Linked DNA regions of Homo sapiens: all the other regions are linked to region 3. The links are contacts of gene promoters, found by promoter capture Hi-C in human tissues and cell types (Jung and others, 2019). All regions are on one chromosome and are shown on one strand. Each heading gives the region's core, a stretch centred on a gene start or on the middle of the fragment in contact. The rest is flanking DNA. Distances are from core to core; before and after follow the strand shown.

What was found. Contacts are between HindIII fragments. The study calls those that stand out against the background at their distance.
Region 1: a contact is called between a fragment that was not itself captured here and the fragment with the promoter of KLF17 in region 3, in 1 of the 25 tissues and cell types used here (mesendoderm cells).
Region 2: a fragment that was not itself captured here is called in contact with the fragment with the promoter of KLF17 in region 3 in 2 of the 25 tissues and cell types used here (mesendoderm cells and thymus).

The regions. Positions count from the first base shown.
Region 1 is chr1:44,159,797-44,164,522 of GRCh38, forward strand. No RefSeq gene overlaps it. Among named protein-coding and RNA genes, the nearest start is that of KLF18, 21 kb to the left of the region's middle. The HindIII fragment of the contact is 5,737 bases long and covers 1-4,726 here.
Region 2 is chr1:44,078,771-44,083,066 of GRCh38, forward strand. It overlaps a transcript of KLF17 not described here. Among named protein-coding and RNA genes, the nearest start is that of KLF17, 38 kb to the right of the region's middle. The HindIII fragment of the contact is 4,690 bases long and covers 1-4,296 here.
Region 3 is chr1:44,116,733-44,120,821 of GRCh38, forward strand. It overlaps KLF17 (KLF transcription factor 17), which reads left to right and starts at 2,089. Exons shown (of 4, transcript NM_173484.4): 1 at 2,089-2,256. The coding sequence starts at 2,176. It also overlaps the pseudogene RN7SL479P. RefSeq lists a promoter at 1,078-2,066 and an enhancer at 2,635-3,402. The HindIII fragment of the contact is 4,517 bases long and covers 1-3,403 here.

The DNA of each region.
Region 1 (4,726 bases), core at 736-3,235, 43 kb after region 3:
ACTCTATGGTCTATATTAGAGAATGCCCATGTACGCTTGAGAAGAATGTGTATTGTGTTGTTGTTGGGTTGGGTGTTCTGCCTATGTCTGTTAGATCTAGTTGGTATATCGTGTTGTTCAGGTCCTCTGCTTCTTTCCTTATTTTCTGTCTGATGGTTCTATCCATTATTGAGAGTGGGGTATTGAGGTCTCCGATTTTTTCTTTCTTTCTTTTTTTTTTTGAGAGGGAGTCTTGTTCTATAGCCCAGGCTGGAGTGCAGTGGCACCATCTGATCTCATCGGCTCACTGCAACCTCCACCTCCTGGGTTCAAGCGATTCTCATGCCTCAGCCTCTGAGTAACTGGGATTACAGACATGTACTACCACGCCCAGCTAATTTTTGTATTTTTAGTAGAGACAGTGGTTTCTGCCATGTTGGCCAGGCTGGTCTCAAACTCCTGGCCTCATGTGATCTGCCCATCTTGGCCTCCGAAAGTGCTGGGATTACAGGCATGAGCTACCAGGCCCAGCTGATGTCTCTGACTATTATTGTAGAGCTGTTTCTTTCTCCCTTCAATTCTATCAGTTTTTGCTTCATATATTTTGATGGTCTGTTGTTAAGTGCATAAATGTTTATAATTGTTTTATCTTCATGCTTTATTTTACCTTTTATTAATATGTAATCCCTTTCTTTGTCTTGTGTAAACTTTTTTGATTTAAAGTCTGTTTTGTGTGATGTTAGTATAGACACCCCACTCTCTTTTGTTTACTATTTGTATGTAATATCTTTTTCCATCCTTTTACTTTCAACCTATTTGTGTCTTTATCTAACATGATTTCTTGTAGACATCATATACTTGATTCATGTTTTTTATACATTATGCTGATTTCTGTATTTTGATTGGAGAGTTTAATCCGTTTACATTTAAAGTATCTACTGACAAAGAGGGATTTAATTGTGCCCTTTTGCTTTTGTTTTCTATATGCCTTATACCCTTTGTGTTCTTCATTTCTTGCATTACTGTCCTGTGTTTAGTTAAGATTTTTGTAGTGAAAAGTTTTAAATGCTTGTGTGTGTGTGTGTATCCTTTTGTACATATGTTATGGATATTTTCTCTGTGGTTATCATGAAAATTACATTTGACATCCTAAAATTATAACACTAATTTGAATTTATTTATTTATTTATTTATTGAGATGGAGTCTTGCTCTGCTGCCCAGGCTAGAGTGCAGTGGTGCAATCTCAGCTCACTACAACCTCTGCCTCCCGGGTTCAAGCGATTCTCTTGCCTCAGCCTCCCGAGTAGCTGGGATTACAGAAGTGTGCAACCACGGCTAACTTTTGTATTTTTAGTAGAGACGCAGTTTTGCCATGTTGGCCAGGCTAGTCTTGAACTCCTGACCTCAGGTGATCTACCTGCCTTGGCCTCCCTAAGTGCTGGGATTACAGGCATGAGCCACCGTGCCCAACCTAATTTGAATTTATACCACCTTAACTTCAAAGGCATACAAAAACTCTGCTCCTATGCAGTTCTGTGCCCATCCCTTTCAGTTACTGATGTCATAAAATTACATTTTTGTGCATTGTATGTCCAAAAACACAAGCTTCTTAGTGATTTTTTTAATGCTTAGTCTCTTAAATAATATAAACAAAATGTGGTGTTTTAAATCAAAGTTACAGTAATACTAGCTTTTATAATGGTATATGTATTTTTTTTTTTTTGTAGAGATGGGGTCTCACTATGTTACCCATGCTGGTGTCAAACTCTTGGGCTCAAGTGATCCACCTATATTGATCTCCCAAAGTGCTGGGATTACAGTTATGAGCCACCATGGCTGGCCTCTTAATTTCTTCTTCATTTTTGATGGACAGTTTTGCCAGGTAAAGGATTCTTGCTTGACAGTTTTTTCCTTTCAACATTTTGCATATATTGATCCACTGGCTTCTGGCCTCCACAGTTTCTGGTAAGAAATCAGGAGACAATCTTATTCAGAATCTCTTGTATGTAAACAGTTGCTTCTTCCTTGCTGTTTCCAAGATTTTCTCTTTGCCTTTGGCCTTTCACAGTTTGACTATAATATTTCCTGGTGGGACCTCTCTTGAGTTTATTCCACTTCAACTTTGTTGAGCAACTTGGATGTTTGTATTCATGTTTTTCACCCAGTTTGGGGCATTTCTAGCCCTTATTTCTGCAAAAAAAAAAAAAAAAAATTCCTTTTTCCCTTTCCCTCTTTTTCTTTTGAAACTCCTACAGTGCATATGTTGGTCTGAATCTTTCTTCTACCTACTCACATCTGCTTTTGGAATCCCTTTAGTCAAATTTACATTGTAGTTATTGTACTTTTCAGCTCCAGAATTTTTTGTTCCTTTTTATGTTTTTTCTTTATTTTTCAATAAATATTGAAAAATTTTTTCATTTTATTCATATATCATTTTCTTGACTTTGTCCACTTCTTCGTTTAGCTCTTTGAGCATCTTTAAGACAGTTGCTGAGGAATGTTTTCTGTTGACATTTTTTTCCTTAGATGGGCCATACTTTAATGTTTCTTTGTATGTCTTGTGATTTTGTTGTTGTATTTGAAAACTGGACTTTTGAATCTTATAATGTGGTAACTCTGGAAATAAAATTCTCTCCTTCCCCAGGGTTTGCTTTCTTTTTTGGCACATGGATAAAAAAGGCATGCTGTTTTATTTTATTTTATTTTCATGGTTGTATGGTGTCTCTAAGCTGGGGATAAGATTGAGAAATAAATTGAAGGTCTTCTCTGAGTCTATGCCTTTCCCTGGACATGCATGGTGACTTTCCCTATTCCCTTGTGTATGTAGTTACTTCGGATGTCCTAGTCCTTAAATGTCTGGCCCCTAAAAGGGGGAAAAGGGAAAGATGAAGGGGAGGAAAGCCAGTCATTGGCTTTTTAAGTCTCCTGGAAGTCACTTTTCCAGTGTGGATTGTAAAAATGACAATGGGGGTTACAACAATGGCAGCTCACTTCTGTGACTACACCTCTACCATCAGAAGCAGCAATCAGGGATCAAAACATAGATCCCAGATACATGGAAGACAAGGTTCTTATTGCCTACCCTGGCTCCTGCAAGCCAAGTCCAAGTTGCTCCAAAAGTGTGAGAGCTGAAATTGACTGAAATTAGCCACAGTCTTCCCCTGGAAGTTGCAACCCTTGTGATAGATTCCAGAGTTCCAACATAGTTATATTAGACAGATTCTGTCAGTACAATTGACTAGGTAGAGAGATTGATTCCTGATGTTTTCTACTCTGCCACCTTCCCTGATGTCATTATGATCTTATTATTTTATTTTGAGACAGGTTCTCACTCTATCACCCAGGCTGGAGTGCAATCACAGCTCACTGCAGCCACAATCTCCCGGGCTCAAGTGATCCTCCCACATCAGCCTCCTGAGTAGCTGAGACTACAGGCACCGTGCAACCAGGCCCAGCTAATTTTTTTGTTGTTGTTGTATTTGTGTAGAGACAGGGTTTTCACACGTTGCCCAGGCTGGTCTTGAACTCCTAAGCTCAACCGATTTACCCACCTCAGCCTCCCAAAGTGCCAGGACTATAGGCATGAGCCACTGCACCCAACCCTTATTACTTTGTATTTACTCCTTTCAATAGTTATTTCTCACTTGTCATTTATTTGGTTTTTATTGTTGTTGTTGTTGTTGATTTGTTTTTGAAACAAGATCTCACTCTGTTGCCTAGGCTGTGCAATGGTGCGGTCACAACTCACTGCAGCCTCAACCTCCTGGGCTCAAGCAATCCTCCCGCCTCAGTCTCCCAAGTAGCTGGGACTAGAGGCATGTGCTACCATGCCCAGCTAATTTTTAATTTGTTTTGTAGAGACAGGGTCTCATTATGTTGCCTAGGTTGGCCTTGAACTCCTGAGATCAAGCAGTCCCCTCACCTTCGCCTCCCAAAGTGCTGGGATTATAGGCATGAGCCACTGCATCCCACCCGCTTGTCATTTCTTATTTGTTTATGCTATATAATTGTTTTCTATAGCTTTGATATTTTTCAAAGAATTAATTTTTAATTGCTTGATTAGCATACTTTTTATTATGTAGACTTTTCTGTTTTCTGATCAATATTTCCTGTTTTCATATTTAGCAATTTCATCCTTCTGTATTTTTTCAATTTGCTTCACCATTCTTTTCTTTTTTGAGTTGTGTGTTTAATCCATTTATTTTAATCCACTTATCAATCATTTATTTTTGTTTTCTTCTAATAGGTCTTTTAAGCTCATTTGCATTTATTGATACAATGGATTTGTTTAGTCCCTGTTATATTATTTTGTATTATCTTTTCTGAATTTTCTATTTTTACTATACTCTGTTGTGTTTCCTTTGCTCATTTTCGTTCTTTAAAAAAAAAATCAGAGCAGCTGAACCACCGCAAATGGTACAAATAACAGATTTATTATAGGTACTAGGCCTTATATAACTTTAGGATTTAGTGAATAAGTCTTTGTAAGACTTGCCTCTGTGACTGATGCTGGTCTGAAGTCAGCAGGGCCAGCAGTAAGGAAGGGAAGATGGATGTGAAGTTAGGAAATCAGGGACGGGCAAATGGGAACTTCTGAGGACAAACTAGAATGGCATTAAATCTCATGTCTCAGGTCTCAGTGTTGTAGGTGACCTGCAGGAGAAACTGGTTCTCTTCCCCATTGGTAGCACACACACCTGGCCCAGGATTCAGAGAAGCTGAGAGAGATCGGACAGGAGCTGGGGT
Region 2 (4,296 bases), core at 1,008-3,507, 38 kb before region 3:
CAGGCAGCTTCCCAGCTAGGCACCCCCACAACAGGTGGTTTCCTAGCAAGTTTCACCAGTGCCCCAGTGGACCGTTTCCTTCCTGCCACCCTGGTCTGTGGTACCTTCTCTCCCATCCAGTGGAGCACAGTGACACCCTCTACAGGGAGGTCTGAATCTCAGCCTCAGCCTCCCAAAGTGCTGGGATTACAGGCATGAGACACCGTGCCTGGCCCCTCCATGTCTTAATTATCATATTTTACAATAAGTCTTGGTAGCTGATAAAGTATGTTCTTCCTCCATTTTAATTTTCTTTAACAGTATGTTGAATTTTTATCAAATCCTTTTTTCTGCCTTTAATTAGATGATCTCATATTTTCTTCTTTAATTCATGGGCAGCTCTATTCCAAGCTTACTCCTTTCCTTGGTACTCTGCCTTCACCATAGAGAGGGTGTCTGCTCCCTACATCTGCTATGCCTGTATTATTCGGAGTTCTCTGCACATATAATTTAGTTAACCCCTTGTGACTAGTTAATCATTCTTTTCTTTTCTTCTCCTTTTTTTTTTTTTGAGACAGTCTTGCTCTGTTGCCCAGGTTGGAGTGTGTTGGCGCAAATCACAGTTCAGCCTCGACCTCCTGGGCTAAAGCAATTCTCCCACCTCAGCCTCCCAACTAGCTGGGACTATAGGCACATACCGCCACCATGCTCAGCTACATTTTTTGTTATTTTTCATAGAGGTGAGGTCTCACTCTGTTGCCCTGGCTGGTCTCAAACTCCTGGGCTCAAGCGATCCTCCCACCTCAGCCTCTCAAAGTGCTAGCATTACAAGACGTGAGCCACCACGCCTGGCCTAGTAATTCTTTATATTAAAATTTCCCTGTTCAAATTACTGGTATGGTTTCTTTTTCCTGACCGGAACCTGATTGACAAATCAGTCAGATTTAATCCTCCTGGAAAATATTTCATATATGGTATGAGATCAGAGTTCAACTTCATTTTTTCCATCCAGATAGCCAATTGTCTGAGTGCCATGTTTTGGAAAGAACATCCTTCCCCTATTGTTCTTTGGTGACGGCTCTGTCATATATCAGGAATCCATATATGCTTGGGTCCATTTCTAGCCTGTCTGTTTTACCCATTTTTCTATTTGTGCCTGCACTAATCCCTCCATGTCTTTTTTTTTTTTCTTTTTTTGAGACAGAGTCTCACTCTGTCGCCCAGGCTGGAGTGCAGTGGCGTGATCTCGGCTTACTACAACCTCTGCCTCCTGGGTTCAAGCAATTCTCCTGTCTCAGCCTCCTGAGTAGATGGGATTACAGGTGCGTGCCACCATGCGTGGCTAATTTTTGTATTTTTAGTAGAGATGGGATTTCACCATGTTGGCCAGGCTGGTATCAAATTCCTGACCTCGTGATCCACTCACCTTAGCCTCCCAAAGTGCTAAGATTACAGGCGTGAGCCACCGTACCTGGCCCCTCTGTGTCTTTTTTTTTTTTTTTTTTTTGAGACGGAGTCTTGCTCTGTCGTCCAGGCTGGAGTGCATTGGTGCAATCTAGGCTCACTGCAAGCCCCGCCTCCCGGGTTCACACCGTTCTCCAGCCTCAGCCTCCCGAGTAGCTGGGACTGCAGGCGCCCACCACCACCCCTGGCTAATTTTTTATATTTTTAGTAGAGACGGGGTTTCACCATGTTAGCCAGTATGGTCTCCATCTCCTGACCTCGTGATATGCCCGCCTTGGCCTCCCAAAGTGCTGGGATTACAGGCGTGAGCCACAGCACCAGGCTCTCTCTGTGTCTTAATTATCGTATTTTACAATAAGTCTTGGTAGCTGATAAAGCATGTCCTTCCACTATTTTAATTTTCTTTAAAAGTATGTTGAATTTTTATCAAATCCTTTTTATCTGCCTTTAATTGGATGATCTCATATTTTCTTCTTTAATTCATGGTGAATTATATTGAATTTTTTTTTTTTTTTTTTTTTTGCAGGATCTTGTTCTGTTACCCAGGCTGGAGTGCGATGGCGTGATCTCGGCTCACTGCAACCTCTGTCTCCTAGGCTCAAACAATCCTCCTGCCTCAGCCTCTCAAGTAGCTGGGACTATAGGCATGTGCCACCATGCGTGGCTAATTTTTGTATTTTTTGTAGGGATGGAGTTTTACCATGTTGCCCAACCTGGTCTCGAACTCCTGGACTGAAGCAATCCACCCACCTTGGTCTGCCACAGTGTTGGGATTATGGGCAGAAACCACCGCACCCCACCTCAAATTTACATAATTTAATCTTATATGTTAATTTAATCAAAATGGACAACTAATATGAAAGAAAATCTACTGCATGAGGAAGTATACCACTGTAAGATAGAGTAACAAAACAGATTTAGTTAATCTGTTGTGCCTAGGAGGCAGAGGTTGCAGTGAGCCAAGATAGCGCCATTGCACTCCAGCCTGGGTAACAGAACAAGATCCTGTAAAAAAAAAAAAAAAAAAAATTAGTTAATCAGATTCAGTTAAACAGATTTAGTTAATCTGTTTTGTTATTGTTGGTTCTGTAACACTATCTCATGTTAAACTAAATCTGTTTAGTTTAAAGCACTAGGTTTAAACGAAGCTTAGCTCAAAACTCAAAGCTCTAGGTTTCTAGTATTGGCATTTTCCCCATGGTAGTTTTTTTTTTTTTTCTTTTGAGACAGAGTCTCATGTCACCCAGGCTGGAGTCCAGTGGCACAATCTTGGCTCACTGCAACCTCCACCTCCCGGGTTCAAGCAATTCTCTTGCCTCAACCTCCCAAGCAGCTGGAACTACAGGTGCCCACCCCCGCACCTGTCTAATTTTTGTATTTTTTTTCCCATAGAGATGGGGTTTTGCCATGTTGGCCAGGCTGGTCTTGAACTCGTGACCTCAAGTGATCCACCTGCCTCAGACTCCCAAGGTGCTGGAATTACAGGCATGAGCCACTGCACTTGGCCTCCCCATGGTAGTCTTGTTTCCATATGGGCACATCACCGATTTCAGCTTTTTGTGTTTGTTTCAGGCTCCTAGAGATTTTCCTTAGTTCCTTGTACTCCTAAGTGTATAAATATCTATTTGTTGAAATGTATCCACTATCAATATATTTTAAAGAAGAGCTTTTCAAAATATGTAGTGAGCCATACCGCTAGTGGCAGAAGTCTTTTTTGTTGTTACATCATCTAGAATGTTATTATATGTGACATTACCAACTTGTTCTAAAATGTTAAATAATTTTTCTTAATGGACCTGGCAACACCATATATTGGGAAAGTTAATGTCCAGAGCCTTTCCATTTCAGTTATTTCTCCGAGATTCCATAATTTTGCTTAGGGGAGAGACTAGAAGTGGTGCATAACCAGAATAATATCCCCATAATCACATAAGCCAGACCAATTCCTTAGGAACCAAAAGTAAGCTCATGTACCACAGATGAAATAAGTCCCAGTAAATGATCACCAACAGTCTAATTGGGTAATTGAGCAACTGAATAGCGGAAGATTAAGATACAGTGATGTATTGAACTCAGGGAAATATCATAAGGATTAATACAACATTCATTATAATTACATTGGCTATTGGCCACAGGAACTAATCCATTTTGAATGAAACATTAAAACCCTTTAATGGTGGTGGCTATTTGTGGAAAGAGTGTGGAAGTATTGGAAATTACACCGGGGACTGTGTGCATTCGGAGGGTTTTATTGGTCCTAGACCAGCAGCAGTCAGAAACAATTTTGTGTATGTCCCCAGGCTTCAAAAGCCTCCCTAGATGAGGGACATTGGTATCATGGGGGTTCCCTGAGAACAGATTCAACACTCAGAGATAGGAAGTTTCTTTATGAACAGAAGGGATAGTTTAAGAAAAGTGTCATATTTTTATCCCTGGATTTTTGACACACAAAAGCCATACACCAATATTCAGACAAAGGTCCATCAGTCATTTTGAAACTTTTCTTGATCTTTTTGATAATTCTGTTCTTTCTGGAGGGGAAGATCCTTATTACCTTGGTAAGGCAAGTTGTCTCTACCTTAGAAACGCGACCCCAAACCAAACTGATACATTCAGAAGGGAAAATGTGACCAGCACTGTGATAACTGCTTGGTAAAGCTGACCTCGTCATTTGGTCTCTTGTTCATAGAGCAGAGGGGGCCAGCACACTCACTGTGTCTTTAAACTTTTTTTTTTTTTTTTTTTTGAGACAGGGTCTCACTCTATTGCCCAGGTTGGAGTGCAGTGGTGCCATCATAGGCCACTATACCTTCAAACTCGTGAGCTCAAACAATCCTCTCACCTCATCCTCCT
Region 3 (4,089 bases), core at 839-3,338:
CTTAAATGTAGGAGTCCCCAGGCTCTGTCCTCTGTCCTGTTGTCAAACTATCTCCAGTGTTGATAGCATCCACTCTAATGGCCTTCTAACTACCATCTCTATGCTGACAACACCCAAGTTTACATTTACAGCCCTGACCTTCTCTGAGCATAATTAATAGACATCTCAAAATCAGTGTCTAAAATGGAATTCTTGTTTCAGTTGCCTCCAAATCTGCTCCTCTTCCTATCTTTCCATATACCAAGTGGCACGATCATCATGCAGTTGCTCAAGCCAATAATCTAGGAGCCTTTTTGATTCCTCTTTCCCTCCCTCCCTACCCCCTTCTGATCCATTACAAATTCTGTTTTTCATTCTTTTTTTTTAGAGATGGGATCTCACTATGTTGCCAAGGTTGGAGTGCACTGGCCATTCACAGGTGTAGTAATCCCATTACCAATCAGCATAGGAGTTTTGACCTACTCTATTTCTGACCTGGGCCAGTTCATCCCTCCTTAGGCAACCTGGTGGTGCCCCACTCCTGGGAGCTCACCATACTGATGCTGAACTTAGTGTGGACACCCAATCAGCACAGCACACTGCAGCCCAGACCTCCTGGGCTCAAGTGGTCTCCCGCCTCAGCCTCCTGAGTAGCTGGGACTACAGGTGGGCACCACCTCCATGACCAAACACTGACATCTCTTTCTTGGACAGCTCCTTTTTTATTTATTTTATTTTATTTTATTTTATTTTATTTATTTTATTTTATTTTATTTTATATTTTATTTTATTTTATTTTTTGAGACGGAATTTTGCTCTTGTTGCCCAGGCTGGAGTGCAATGGCGCGATCTCGACACACTGGAACCTCCACCACCCGGATTCAAGCGATTCTCCTGCCTCAGCCTCCTGAGTAGCTGGGATTACAGGCACGCGCCACCACGCCTGGCTAATTTTTTATTTTTAGTAGAGACGGGGTTTCACCATGTTGGCCAGGCTGGTCTCAAACTCCTGACCTCAAGTGATCTGCCCGCCTCAGCCTCCCAAAGTGCTGGCGTTGCAGGCGTGAACCACTGCGCCCAGCCTCATCTCCTTTAGATTTCTAACTGGTGTCTCTGCACCCCTCTGGCCCTTTATAATCCATAAGGAGCCAAATGGTTTATTTTAAAAACATATATCAGATCACATCAAATTCCTGTTTAAAAGCATCAGTGGCTTCCCGCCACACTTAGAATAAAATCCAAATTCCTTTCTATGGTCTTCAAGGCCCTATCCCTCTGTCCTCGTGTCACTGTCCATGTGGTATCACCGTGGTCACCTTGCCTTCAATTTCCTTCTAGCACCGTTGGGCTCTTTTTTGCCTTAGAGCCCTTCAATCTTCCTATGGCTGGCTCCTTTCAGGCATTTCATTTTCAGCTCACATTTCTGTTTTGGTTTTCCATAGCACTCACCACCACCTAAAATTATAATAGTTAACAACTTTATTACTCATTTCTTGTCTTCCCGTATAAGATGGAAATTGACAGCAAGGACTTTGTTCTGTCCTGTTTACTATTTTACCCCTAGTTCAGAGATCAGTGCCCAACACACACGGGGCACTCAGTAAACACTGCGGAATAAACAGGTTGTGCCATGAAGCTCCCAGTCTTCAGTTCGTACAGACAAGGGACAGAGGTGCACAGACTGTAGCAGAAAAGCTCCAGCCCTTCCAAAGCTTATGGCAAGATCCCGACCTGAGAGAGTGCTGGTGGAGGCTCTCCTATCGGTAGAGGCCCTACACCCAACCTTGCCTCTCTCTCCAGCCTCGCCTCTCTCTCCAGCCTCCTCCTGGCTGGAGTTGGAGACCTGGGTGTCCTCAGTCCCCACTTGGGTGAAACAGTTGCTCAGACTGAGGGGTGGAATGGGTCGGTTGGGTGGGCGGACCAAATTCCTTTAAGAAGCGTTCAAGGCCTGAAGTGGCTGGCTGTCCGTGAGGCTGCCTTGGTTGGGGCATGGTGAGGGTGGGTGGCAGCCTGGGGCAGGGCTGCGAGGGCGGCGCAGGGCGGGACGGGTGGGGCCTGACCCCGCCCCTTGGCGCAGCTGTAAATAGGTAAATAGAAGGTGATTGTGGCGTGGCGATGTACCGATACCCGCCTGCGACGCCGTGGTGGCTGGTTCCCTGTCTCTTCAGTAGAGAGTCTAGACCCCACCCAGTCTTCATGTACGGCCGACCGCAGGCTGAGATGGAACAGGAGGCTGGGGAGCTGAGCCGGTGGCAGGCGGCGCACCAGGCTGCCCAGGTGAGTCAGGTGCCAGCCCCTGGCAGGCCGGGCGGGCCCAGGCTAGGGGGCGGCGGGGAGGGGAGGCCTTGGAGGAGAGGTGAGGCGGAGGGAAGCAGAAACCCGAGGGGTAGAAATCCGAGGGGAGGGGTGGCAAAGGAAGGAATGGGAGATTGGGGAGGGGTTGCAAAGGGAGGGATGGGAGATTGGGGAGGGGTTGCAAAGGGAGGGATGGGAGACTGGGGAGGGATTGGAAAGGGAGGGTTGTGAGATTGAGGGTGTAAATCATACGTCGTTTATTCCAACAATGTTCGCCCAGCAGTAGAGCTTGTGTTGGCCGCGTGGCGGGTAAGAGGGTTCTAGGCAACTTTCTGGTGAGGGACTTGAGTAGGCAGGACAGCAAAGACCAAGTTAGGAAGTGAGCAGGAAACAACAGGAAAAAAAAAAAAAACCCCAAAAATGTTAATTGGAGCCCTACTAAGTGGTAGGCTTTTCCCAGACCCTGGAAATACAATGATGAATTTACCATGAAACAGATATATATAAAATTGTATGAATAAATCGTTAACTGAATGATTGGAATTGTACAGCGTTACATGAAGAAGAAGTCAGGGGCGCGTGGGAGCAGATACCAGAGGTGTTTGACCCGATTTGGGAGGCTTAGGAGACAGCTGAGACTCTGTTCTGGGACTAAAGAACCCGTCAGGTGAAAGGTTCCCAGGTCTGAGACCACAGGCTGCATGCTTCCTCTTAGGAGGAACTGAAAGACCAGGGCCTAGACAGTGATGGAAGGGTGGCCCCAGGGACACCATTGAGATCATTCAGGGCTTGTTTATTCCAAGAACAGTGGGAAGCCATTGATGAGTTTAAACATAATCTGTCTCAATTAGATTTGCATTTTCAAAGGAGTGCCCTGGTGGATGTGGGCTGGATTCAAGGCAACAGTTAGAAAGCTTTTGTGATAATCCAGGTGAGAATTCAAATGGCGGCCTACCTGCAGAAGTGAGAGTGGAGATGGAGAAGCTAAATATATCATAGATTGTGGAGATGTTTTGGAGGCAGAGACCACAATCATTGGTCCCCGGGTGGTGAGGGAGACATCTAGAGTAACAGATTTCTTGCTTGCACAATTGGGTGACAATAGTGACATTTTCTGAGAGAGAGTGAAGGATGAGAAGGACAAGATTAATTTGTTGTTTGAGGGAGGTGGGCAAAGATGCTAGTGAATTTTGGCCATAGTCCATTAGAAGAGCATGTGGGCCATCCGAAAGGACTCAAACAATAGGTAGCTGGAAAATTCAGGAGCCATCTTCGCCAGAGCGAAGATTCCAGATTTAGGAATAGTTGGACTGTAAACAGAAACAAAACCACTGGCATGGGGAAGCTTGCCCAGAGAGAGCAGGGAAAGGGAAATCTGCAAAAGAAACTGTGAAGGAGGGGGTCTGAGAGAAGGGAAGGAGAAAAACTTGGAAAGTGTGGCCATGCGTGTTAGAGAGGCCAAGCATTCTAAGAAGGGTGTGGCCAGTGGTCGTATAAGCTCCTGAGAGTTCAAGCGAGGAGTCTGGAAAGTGCTGCTTGGTCATAGTGGGATGGAAGTCATCAGTGGTGACCTTTATGAAAGCTGGTTCTGTGGAGAGATAGAGGCCAGAGCAAATTTGGGAGACTCATAAGGCAAAGTAGTGGTGAAGGCATGTTTAGACAACTTAATTTGCCATGAAGGACTGGGAAAACAAGAGGGCCATTGCTGAGAGTTAGGGAGGAGAGGCTGAGCACCCCAGAGGTGCCCACCCAATAGTCATTTACCTAGTTCCTATTATATGTCTGTCTTATGCTAGTTGCTGAGCATATAGTGGT